Regions from separate parts of the Homo sapiens genome. Here all the other regions are linked to region 1. Evidence: promoter capture Hi-C in 16 types of primary human blood cells and fetal thymus (Javierre and others, 2016). All regions are on one chromosome and are shown on one strand. The core of a region is centred on a gene start or on the middle of the fragment in contact, and the rest is flanking DNA. Distances in the headings are between cores, read along the strand shown. Region 1 holds the start of ZFR (zinc finger RNA binding protein). Region 2 has its middle 53 kb from the start of ZFR. Region 3 overlaps ZFR (zinc finger RNA binding protein). Region 4 overlaps ZFR (zinc finger RNA binding protein).

The links. The method cuts DNA at HindIII sites, captures the fragments that hold promoters and counts their contacts. A CHiCAGO score of 5 or more calls a contact.
Region 2: a fragment that was not itself captured here is called in contact with the fragment with the promoter of ZFR in region 1 in 3 of 17 cell types (activated CD4 T cells, total B cells and naive B cells); the score reaches 6.4 in activated CD4 T cells.
Region 3: a contact is called between a fragment that was not itself captured here and the fragment with the promoter of ZFR in region 1, in 9 of 17 cell types (total B cells, activated CD4 T cells, naive B cells and 6 more). The highest score is 9.2, in total B cells.
Region 4: a fragment that was not itself captured here is called in contact with the fragment with the promoter of ZFR in region 1 in 2 of 17 cell types (activated CD4 T cells and total B cells); the score reaches 5.4 in activated CD4 T cells.

The regions. Positions count from the first base shown.
Region 1 is chr5:32,443,289-32,446,260 of GRCh38, reverse strand. ZFR (zinc finger RNA binding protein) reads left to right here and starts at 1,521. Exons shown (of 20, transcript NM_016107.5): 1 at 1,521-1,639; 2 at 1,933-2,032. The coding sequence starts at 1,603. RefSeq lists silencers at 1,219-1,908, 2,139-2,478 and an enhancer at 1,870-2,427. The HindIII fragment of the contact is 7,512 bases long and covers 1-2,972 here.
Region 2 is chr5:32,496,010-32,498,911 of GRCh38, reverse strand. No RefSeq gene overlaps it. Among named protein-coding and RNA genes, the nearest start is that of ZFR, 53 kb to the right of the region's middle. The HindIII fragment of the contact is 655 bases long and covers 1,073-1,727 here.
Region 3 is chr5:32,406,260-32,408,959 of GRCh38, reverse strand. It overlaps ZFR (zinc finger RNA binding protein), which reads left to right. Exons shown (of 20, transcript NM_016107.5): 6 at 1,939-2,186. Among named protein-coding and RNA genes, the nearest start is that of MIR579, 13 kb to the right of the region's middle. The HindIII fragment of the contact is 974 bases long and covers 817-1,790 here.
Region 4 is chr5:32,380,294-32,383,314 of GRCh38, reverse strand. All of the region lies in intron 15 of ZFR (zinc finger RNA binding protein), which reads left to right. Among named protein-coding and RNA genes, the nearest start is that of MIR579, 13 kb to the left of the region's middle. The HindIII fragment of the contact is 3,735 bases long and covers 1-3,021 here.

The DNA.
Region 1 (2,972 bases), core at 272-2,771:
GCTCAGGCTGGAGTCCAGGGGCGCGATCTCGGCTCACTGCAACCTCTGCTTCCAGGGTTCAAGCGATTCTCCTGCCTCAGCCTTCTGAGTGGCTGGGACTACAGGCGCCCGCCACCACGCCCGGCTTTTTTTTTTTTTCTTTTTTTTTGAGACGGGGTTTCACCATGTTGGCCACTGACCTCACCTCGTGATCCACCCGCCTCGGCCGCCCAAAGTGTTGGGATTACAGGCGTGAGCCACCGCGCCCGGCCAGCATTTCCTTTTAATGTTCATATCCAACAATGAGGAGAGATGAGGAGCAGGGAGTCTGGGGGATGGGCATGGAGAAGGTAAGGAAGAGGTGAAATGCAGGCAGTACATATGTACTTGATGGAAGACACGAAACATAAGGCCAGAGAAACTAGACGATCAGAAGAGGGACTGGAAGAGGAAAGAGAATGGTTGAAAACGAACTGAGAAACTAAAGGGAAGAAAGCGAGGAAACAGAGGGAAAGAGGAAATGCTTACATGGGGGCAAGTACTGTTCTGTCCTTACCACTAAAGATCTGGCACGTGATCTGGTCTCCCTCTCACTTGACTCCAGCCAGACTGATCTTCTTGCTCTTGAACATTCATTCCTTCATCTGGACCCTTCCACTTGCTGCTCTTCCTGCAGGCATCTCCCAGGCCTGTCCTTCCTTCCTTCAAGTGGTCTCCCTAACCACACTCTACATGAAATAGCACCTCCCTTACCCTTATTTTCCTTACTCTGCTTTATTTATGCTTGAAGCTCCAGTCACCATCAGACAGAATTTCTGTGTTTTGGCTACCGGCTGTTGGCTGACATATACCCGCTCCTAGAACGTAAACTCCACGGGAACAGGGACTTTGTTTTGTTCTCTGCCGTATCTCCAGCACCTACAACACTGCCTGACACCCTGCTGGGTGACCGATATACGCCGGATGGCTCAGGGAGTGGGTGCAGGTCGAGGAAAGGGTATAGCAAGAGGTATGTCCGGGAGGGATGTTTAGGGTGTGCTTTTAGTCCAACAGAAAAGCACTCTCCATCCTTTTTCTATTTCTCTCCTCTCCTTCTCCCTCCCTCCGCACTTCAGAGGTTGGGGAAAAGCTGCGGGAAAGCAGGAAATAAGGAAAAATCCTAAATTGCCCAGCTCGAATTCCAATGAAAAATTAATGAGCGAGGAAGACAGGGAGGCAGGGAATAAGTGCACATGCAAAAGTTAAGGAAGCCAGTGGAAAGCAAAGAAAAAGGCGAACAGACGTCACTCTCTCTGGTCACGCTCCCCGACTCCCCAGAGGACAGGCGAGGCGCTTCTGGCACACGCCCCCGTCGCCCCGCGGCCGCGCGGCGTCACCACCACTTCGGAGAAGGCCAGGCCCCTCTTCCCCCGCGGGCTTCCCCGCGCCCGCACCGCCGAGGCCCCGGCACGCGCCCGGGGGAGCCGCGAAGACGGCGGGGACTACAGCTCCCAGGATGCCGAGCACAGGCGCGCCTGCGCAGTGCGGTCGGAGGCGGCGGTCTGTTCTCCGCTGAGGAGGAGCGGGGCAGAGGAGGGAGGCAGCGGGTGAGAGTTCAGAGTTCAGCAGCAGCAGCCCGAGCCCATGATTCCCATATGCCCTGTAGTTTCTTTCACCTATGGTGAGTCTAATGTGGCCCGCGAGGCCTCTGCCCGGCCCCCTCCCTGGCCCCGGGCAGCGGGGAGCCGCGGGGGTTGGGGCAGGCTCCGGGGAGGAGGCGGCGGCCGCCACCCGGGCGTGCGAGTGAGTGAGGGAGTGCGAGGCGGGAGGGGGAGGCGGCGCGGCCGCGGCCTGGGCCCCGCCAGGGCTGCTCTCACGGCGCCTCTCTCTTTCTCTCCCTGCCCTCCCTCGGCGTCTCGGCTCCTCTGTGTCTCTTGTCCCGCCATGGGACCCGACTCTTCGTGCCCGCCGCAGTGCCCAGCCGGCTGGGGGAAGATGCCAAAATGGCGACCGGCAACTACTTTGGATTCACCCACAGCGGGGCGGCGGCGGCGGCGGCTGCGGCCCAATATAGGTAACGGCATCCTGCCTTCTCTCTGTTCGCCCCTTGCTCTCCCCTCGGTCCGGATCCTGTCGATGCGACGCCCCCGCGCCCGTCCCCAGCCATCCCAGAGCCCCGGCCCGCTGCAGGCCTGGCCCGGCCCAGCCCGGCGGCCTCTCCCGCCCCGCCCCGCCCCGCCCCGCCTTGCCCGGCCCGGCCCGGCCCGCGGCGGGGAGCGGCCCCCAGTAGGGGGGAGGTAGAGACGGCGGAGGTGTAGGGACGTGGAGGCCTCAGGGCCCTTCAGCGGCCCCTTAACTAAAATGGCCTCCTGCGGCCGCCGAGCGGAGCCGCCACCGCCGCCCGGCAGGCCCCCCAGTCCCCGCCTCCGCGCGTCCAGCCCCCACCTCCCATCTTCTTCCCACTTGGGGGATGGAGAGGGTGGCTGAAGGGACCTCACGGGGAGTGCCGTGTCGCAGGTCCACTGGCTTCTCGTGCGACGCCTCTCTGCGTCGTCGCCTGGTGCTTCAACCCCCGGAGCCCAGATAACGTGTCGTTGTCTCGGGTACCTTTTCCTCCGCCGTGGGGCTTCTTCCCCAGACGCTCCATCGCTAGCGAGTCCTGCTGACAAACTGCGGGTGTCACTGTGTTCATCGGGTTCCTTTAGTTTTTCCTGCAAGGAGAGAGATTCACATACCAACCACCTGTAAATTGTGTAGTTCTTAGACTGGAAAAGATGTGCGAAGTTTCTAGTGCTGATAAATGAGTGCCCAGCCTTGTTTGAGCTATGGAGTTTAGGCCCCAGGTGGGCCTGTCATTCTCCTTGCGGGGGTCTTTCCCCTGCGGGGAATGGTGGGGAGGGAAGAAGATGCAAGTGAGATTGTACTGAGTCATTGTAATGCACCGGATGAAATCCCTGCTTTAAGGGAAGCTCTCATTTCTGAAGTCTGTAGTTCATTATACATCTTACCAAAGA
Region 2 (2,902 bases), core at 151-2,650, 53 kb before region 1:
TAAAAGATGGACAGTTGTGTTGAAGGGAAAGGCAAGCTTTTTTTTTGCTTTCAATAAAGGGAGAAGAAGATACTCCTTGAAATCACTAGAACAAGAGAGATTCCAGTCCATTACTTAATGTTAGAAACCAGTAGAGGAACTAAAAATAATGATATAGCTTTACTGGGACAGGAGTGTGAGCAAGTTAAATCCTTATCTTTGTGAGCAAGTTAAATCCTTATCTTTCACAAGAGGAAGTCAAGAGATAATGTCTAAAGATGATAAACCAGGAAATAGCAAGCAGTGTAAACATAGTATTTAGACACACAGAGGTAATCACTAAACACTGAAACCAAACTGCTGGATGACAGACTGGGCACAGGCATAGGTGGATACCTCTGTAGAATTTAATTTTTTTTTTTATGTCTCTCCACCTTTTCTATTGGGTTCCATGAATAAAAGATTCTTGTTGTTGTTGTTGTTTGTTTGTTTGAGATGGAGTATCACTCTGTTGCCCTGGCTGGAGTGCATGGTGCAATCTCGGCTCACTGCAACCTCTGTCTCCCAGGTTCAAGACATTCTCATGCCTCAGCCTCCCCAGTAGCTAGGAATACAGGTGCGTGCCACCACACCCAGCTAATTTTTGTATTTTTAGTAGGGATGGGGTTTTACCATGTTGGCCAGGCTGGTTTGAACCCCTGACCTCAAGTGATCCACCTGCTTTGGCTTCCCAAAGTGCTGAGATTACAGGTGTGAGCCGCCACGCCCAGCCTGTTTGTTTTTGAGACGGGGGTCTCATCATGTCACCCAGGTGGGAATACAGTGATGCAATCACAGCTCACTGCAGCCTCAAACTCCTGGGCTCAAGCACTCTTCCCACCGCAACCTCCCAATTAGCTAGGACTACAGGCACACGCCACCATACCCCACTAATTTTTTTTTTTGCTGTAGAGATTGGAGGCAGGCGGCAGTCTCGCTTTGTTGGCTAGGCTGGTCTCAAACTCCTAGCCTCAAGGAATCCTTCTGCCTCCCAGAATGATGGGATTACAGGCATGGGACCACCATGCTCGGCCAAGAAAAAGCTTCTTAAGCTTCTTTTCTTCTCTTTATTCCTTGAAAAACTCATCAATCTAGTCCCTTCTTCCCCCAAAAGCACTAATTTTAAGGGTGTTCACCAAAATTAGGGACGTTCAGTGTATCAAACTGTGTAGGGAAAAACTCTCCTGAAACCATGTTTTTCCTCTACTCTCACACCACAACAATCATCAACACAGAAGATTTCTGTGACCAAATATATGGGGCTTTTTCCCCACACACCAAGCAACGGACACCAGGGAGGGTCTTCTCATTCAGTTCCAACCGTGTCTGCCCAGAGATGGTGTCAGATCCCACAAGCTGAGGACTCAGTCCCTAAGACTGCCTCCTGAACCCCCACTAACACACACCAGTTGCAAGGTCGGCCCTCCAGAACCTCTTACTGACCAGCTTCAAGTTGGGGTTCCCATGACCCCCCTATATGGGTTCAATAAATTTGCTGGAGCGGCTTATAGAACTCAGGGAAACACATTTACTGGTTTATTATTAAGGATATAGTAAAGGATACACGAGAAGAGATGCACAGGGTGAGATATTAGGGAAGCGGCGCAGAGTTTCCATGTCCTCCCTAAGCGCCACCCTCCAGGAACCTCCAGGAGCTCAGCTACCCGGAAGTTCACTGATCCATGTCCTCTTGGGTTTTTACAGAAGCTTCATGACATCAACATTCTTTCCCCCATGGTATAGGGTGGGAGCCCTCTCATGGGAGAGTCTTAAGATCCATCACCTGATCAGGCCGGGTGCAGTGGCTCATGCCTGTAATCCCAGCACTTTGTGAGGCAGAGGTGGGCAGGTCACTTGAGGTCAGGAGTTCGAGACCAGTGTGGCCAACGTGGTGAAACCCCCGTCTCTACTAAAAGTAAAAAAATTAGCCTGGGCATGGTGGTGCATGCCTGTAATCCCAGCTACTTGGGAGACTGAGGCAGGAGAATCACTTGAACCCGAGAAGCAGAGGTTGCAGTGAGCTGAGATCGCGCCACTGCACTCCAGAATGGGTGACAGAGTGAGACGTTGTCTCAAAAATAATAACAATAGTGATGAAGGGGGAAGGGGTTAAATATCTGAAACAGTCTAACAGTGCCTGGTACATGGGGGAAATTCATTAAACATTGATCCAGCACATGAACAAGAGGAACAATGTTCTATTCAAGCTGGAAATCCTTGATACCCTTGTTTCTCTTATTCAATTCAACCTACTCCTATTGATTGTACATTTTCCCTCTCTCTTGAATCAGCCCTTTTCTATCTCCAAGGCTTCTTCCCCATCCCAGTTGCCATTATTTCTCACTTGGACCATGCAGTAGCCCATGGCCAGAATTTCTGTGGGCCTGACCTAAACAGCTTCCTCAACCCCTAGACTAAGGCGGAACAAAACTCAGAAGACAAAAAAAGGACAGCCGGGGACCTATGGAGCAGCATATGAGTTCATTACAGCTAACAAATTTAAAACAACAACAACAAAACCCTGTCTTCCACACTAACCATATTGCATGACTTCATCTAGCATGAAGTTAATCCAGGAAAGTGGCTGTTTCATGTCAAAAACAGGAAGACGGGCTCTGAGGCACTTTTGAGAGAGCTCTAATCTTGGATTTTCAGTGTCAGAAATCAGAGGGAGAATAAAATCTATGAAAGAAAGCCGACGGGAGAAACATAAGATCCAAGATGGAAACTGAGCTGGGACTAACAGATCCTCCAAAGAACCCTACAATTTACAAGGTATTATCAATTCTCCAGAGCAGGAGTCCAGTAGGTTTCATGGGTGTGTGACCTGCACAGTTGCACATTTCTGTACAGAGAAGGGCCCTGCACTTAGTTAACATTTTAC
Region 3 (2,700 bases), core at 54-2,553, 37 kb after region 1:
AAATGCGTGGAAAACCAGACATATCCAGGAGAAAAGTAGTCAGGCAACTTTTGAGAAAAGCCTTCTTAGACTTTTATGTTAGGCTACTATAGTATATAAAGTTTTAAGATAGAAAGTGTGATAATAGACAAGAAAACATCTGAAATGAAAATAGAAACAGGTAGCTGTATATCAGTGATAAAGCATGTATATGATCAGATAAAATTGAGAAAACAGTTGAGATAATTGCTTAAAACAAAATTTCTATAAACTAATAAACTCTACTGGGCAGTCCTACAAACGTCCTCTATTACTTACGAATGTGATAAAAGAACACAAGCTCACAGCCAAATGTTTTCAAGCTTACAGGCAAAAACATGTATAGTTTAAATTTTACTGTAGAGAAATGCCATAAAATTGTCCAGTTACCAATAATGAAGATGTTTTTAGATTTATTACCAAGTAGGATCATGATTTTTACATAATATCTTTATAACAGATATTTTCCAAATGACTTCAGTTCTTCTATATAGAAACTATACAAATGCCACAGAAATGTAACTTTATGAATTATCTATTAAGAAAATATGAAGCAGAATAAGGACAACAGAGGCCAACAGTGCTGAAAGAATAGTTCTTCTAGTTTTTTTTTTTTTTTTTTTTTTTTAATCAAACGTTCACAATACAGGAAGCAGTATGCCAGACACAGTGTAGTTTTTAGAACAGATCTATAAGGTAAGTATCACTATCCTTAAATATGAGAAAAATTAGGTTTAGAAATTGCAGTATCCTTTAAACACTGATCAAATTTAACCATAAAAATCACCAAGTTAAGCTTAATATTCATAAAATAATCTCTACTTGCACATAGGTAGTGTAAAACTAATAAAAGGCAAGTTTAGTTATAACTTACTACTTAGTTATAAAAATAAAGCATGCACTGAAAGGTGGGCTAAAGATTCTGGAACTCTGTTAAAGGGCATCTTAAATTCTCCTATAACTACTGGCAAACAAATGTACATTTCTTATAAAAAGCATTGTAGGAAAACAGATACAAGGCTGTGTCTGTGTCTGGCCTAGGCAACGTGGCGAAACCCCGTCTCCACGTTCACAGATTAAAAATCTGTAAATCACTGAACATAAGCAACATGTATATATTATATAAACAGCTTGCATAATGTACTTATTCACTGGAGTCTCTGAACAATGGAAATGGGTAGAATTCATACATTTAACCAGAAAACACAATGCTTTTTCATCTTTTGGAAGATGAGAACCAATGTATTGGTCCCTAATTCCTAAATCTTTAACAGTTGTTCTATATTTTCATCTGAACTTCAGTTCCACATCACAAACTTCTGCTAAACTTTATTTACCTTGCCTCCCCAGACTAGCATCTGTCAGCTTCTTGATTCTAGCAGTTGCACAGCCCATCAGTTGATCACTGGGGCTCCAGATTTTAGTGTCACATTTGTATGTTTTCCTCTTCTTTTATCTCTTTTGTCCTCTTAGCTACCAAGCATGTCAAATCTTACTTTCATGAGTTTTTGTTTTTCCTATCTAGTATCCTACTTCAGATTCTTCCTCAAATCCAACACTTCCTAAATTTTGTTCACAGGATTTTATTTGGGGACATATTAGCAGATTCTATAAACAGACAAGTTTGTCAAACACACTATCACATCTCTCCAATTAAACTATAAGGTTCTTCAAGGCAGGGACCAAATTTTACACTGTCTTTATACCTCTATAACACCTGGCATATATTGAGTAAATACTAGTTGATGACTTTCTTAGAAGGAAAATAAGCTTTTTTCTGGTTCTGTGAGATATACGTTTGTAAATATGCACATGTAAATCTATCTTTATTGGCAGGATTAATTTAATTTAAATTTGTAAATTTTAACTTGTCCTTCTATAAGTATGTAACATAATTTTTGTTTGATTTTTATTTGTAAGGTACGTCTTATTCAGGTTATGAAGCAGCAGTGTATTCAGCTGCATCTTCCTACTATCAACAGCAGCAGCAGCAACAGAAGCAGGCAGCAGCAGCAGCTGCTGCTGCTGCTGCAACAGCTGCCTGGACAGGGACCACCTTTACTAAAAAAGCACCATTCCAAAATAAACAACTGAAACCAAAACAGCCTCCCAAACCACCACAGATTCACTATTGTGATGTTTGTAAGATCAGCTGTGCTGGACCACAGGTACTTACGTTGTATGTTTTACCTTGAGTCTTCAGTGGTTATTAAGTGTAGTTGGTATTCTAACTCCTGAGCCTACTAAAAGAGGTTTACATTTTTTCCTGTTAGCTTTTAGCCAGTGCATTTTTTAAGTTACTTGTATTGTGGCATGAGAATTTTCAGGGAAAAAAAAACTGTAAAGATGATTGTGACTGTAAATGATAAATAGGCAAATTGAGCTTTTTTTTCCGGAAAGAGACTTTGTTCTTTAAAACTTAAATTTAGTTTTAAAATTTTGTAGTCAAATTAATTGCGACTTGGGTAAGATTGAATTTTTATTTCGTTGTGTTTTTAGCATCTGTAACTTACTTGCCAAAGCCTTTATTCAAAATTCTTTAACTTAATATAGCAGGTTACTGATAATCTATAATTTTCAGGATTGCATTTCTAATGAGACTGACTTTGATATATACTTTATAGTATGTTAGTTATTTCTGTAATCTCATAAGGGGAGTAGGAACTTCGGGAACAAGGAAGG
Region 4 (3,021 bases), core at 488-2,987, 63 kb after region 1:
GTCAGGGGTTGCTGCCAAGACATCGGAAGGATTTTTGACCAAGGTTTTCAAAAGCTCAGTGTCACATCTGCCATTTGATAAAGGAGGGATTTTGGATGCAGAGCCTGGCATTTATTGTCCTTTGTGTGGCTGTTTTGTTTGTTTTGTCTTTGTCTCTTCTAGAATTGAGCAGTGTTCACACTAGTTTTTAAATGGTTGAGTGGGTTATATATTTTACATGACCATGTTAATTTGAATTAATATATTCCCATTAACGTTTAATCTTAAAATAGTGTGGACACAGCATGTCTTCTAATTGGTGATTAACCCCTTAAAATCTATGAAATACATTCACATAGAATAAGAATTAGCATTTTGTTTTTATAAATTAACTGATTTTTTTTTGCTTTGTTAACTGGGTGTTAGGCAACAAGTATGATTTTAGCAGAATATAAGGGGTTAATCTACTTGAAATAGAAAATGGGTACAAAAATCCACACTAAATTTAACAAAAATTTTCTACTTATAGCTGTAATTTGTTTTTAAATTGCAATAGGTATTAGCTGGGCGTGGTGGTGAGTGCCTATAATCCCAGCTACTTGGGAGGCTGAGGCAGGAGAATTGCTTGAACCCAGAAGGTGTAGGTTGCAGTGAGCCGAGATCATGCCATTGCACTCTGGCCTGGGCGACAAGAGTGAAACTCCATCTCAAAGAAAAAAAAATTGCAATAGGTGTCTTGGCATCTTTGAATTTATATCATGAATTACAATTTCCAAAGTTATGAATGCTTATGTGCAAAACAAAATTTTCTTGCATATCGGAGGAAATAAAATTGTGAATTAACATTAGAAATTTAGAAACATTTTAGAGATTGCACATTGTCACCTATTTGCATTCTAGCTTTAGCAAATGTAAGTAAATAAGGGACATAGAAAGAGGTTCTTTAGCATGTTATAATACTGCTTTGGGGAAGTCAGCTTTTTCTTTTTTGTGTGTGTGAGGGGTTTGGTTTTGTTTTGCTTTGTTTTTGAGACAGTCACTCTGTCACCCAGGCTGGAGTGCAGCAGCACAATCTCGGCTCACTGCAACCTCCACCTCCCAGGTTCAAGCAATTCTCATGCCTCAGCCTCCCAAGTAGCTGAGGAGCTGGGACCACAGGCATGTGCCACGACACCCAGCTAATTTTTGTATTTTTGAGTAGGAATGGAGTTTCACCATGTTGGCCGGGCTGGTCTCGAACTCCCTACCTCAGATGATCCACCTGCCTCAGCCTCCCAAAGTGCTAGGATTACAGGCATGAGCCACTGCACCTGGCCCTTTTTTCTTTTTTAAAACTTCATAGTTAGCTGTCTCTTGTGTCCCTTTTCTTTATCTATTCCTGACAGAATAGTTCATTTCTTATGTTCAGGTTATTTCTAGGTTCAATAGTTGGTCTTATAAGTTTTGAGAGAACTAATATTTTTGTCTTGATAACTTCTTTTTAGCACCAAATTCCTCTTTTAGTATTTATTCTCAAAATGTCACACAGTTTTCCTTGATTATCTGTCTTTCCTCTAAATGTGTCTTCTGAAGAATCTGTGTCCATCTGATTACTCGAGGAGTAAAAAACTAAGAAAAAGAAACCTTAGAGAATAGAATTCTCTATCAGTTTCAAAATATGTTTTTTATATGTCATCTACTCAAAATAAGAACAAGTTATCCTTTAAGATATCTGAATGCTTATGAGATATGAGTAACTTGACCAGAACTGCAGCTAGTACTCTTAAGATAATTAACTTTTTCATACTTTTATCATGTATTTTTTCGTCCATATTCATTTTATATATTCGATTATTAAACTGTATTCTAAATGCCCCATAATTTCCAAAGGACTATTATATTTAATAGATTATATAATTTTTCTATATTGAGAAAATATTCATACTATTTAAATCACTGAGAGCTGTGAATTAGATTGGAATAATTGCCATTTGCTTACTAATAGCTTGATTAGCAGATTTGCTGTTAATATACACATTTTACAGATGTTTAGATGGATATAAAGATAGCCCTTTGTCTACTTTTATGAATGATATATTAATGTAAAGTTAACTTCTTGTCCTGGTTTAGTTTCATATATTCTCAAGTTTTGTGTAGCTCATTTATGTTTTAATCAGCTTAAAGACCCTACACATCTATCGTCACAGGATCAGCATCTTTTCCACTCTTAATTCTGTTTAACCATACTAGTTCCTATTCGCTGTTCTGCTTGCCTATTGTTTCTCTTTTATCATTTTTTGAAATACTTTATGGGAACTTTAAATTTTAAAGGGCATTTCATACTCTCTGATAACTAAAATTTTCATGCGGAAGGGAGAGCATTAAACTTTTAGAAATGCCTGTTTTGGGCCGGGCGCAGTGGCTCACGCCTGTAATCCTAGCACTTTGGGAGGCCGAGGCGGGTGTATCACTTGAGGTCAGGAGTTAAAAACCAGCCTGGCCAACATGGTGAAACTTCGTCTCTACTAAAAATACAAAAAATTAGCCTGGTGTGGTGGTGCACACCTGTAATCCCAGCTACTTGGGAGGCTGAGACAGGAGAATCGCTTGAACCCAGGAGGCCGAGGTTGCAGTGATCTGAGATCGTGCACTCCAGCCTGGGGGACAGAGTGACACTCCGTCTCAAAAAAAAAAAAAAAAAAAAAAGAAATGCCTGTTTTGGGTTCTTCATTTTTTTCCTATAACTGTAACTATATTGAGCATTCTATATTTATCATCAGTTCTTTGTTATATTAGCTCCAGAATAACTTACGACCATTTAGAGTACTGAACAAACTCAGTAGTTTATTGTACATACTCATTAAGGTGGATTTTTGTGTTCCCTCTTGTCTTGTTGTCTTTGTGCTAGTGCACTGTGTCCAGTAATCTTTCCTTCGGATTTCGTTTTGGTGGGTAGGGTTTATATTTCCAGAAATTGTTTATTATATTACTAAATTAATAAGTTAACCTTTTGTTCCTCATATTGGATTATGTAAATTTATTGAAAATAACTCCGTGGATATA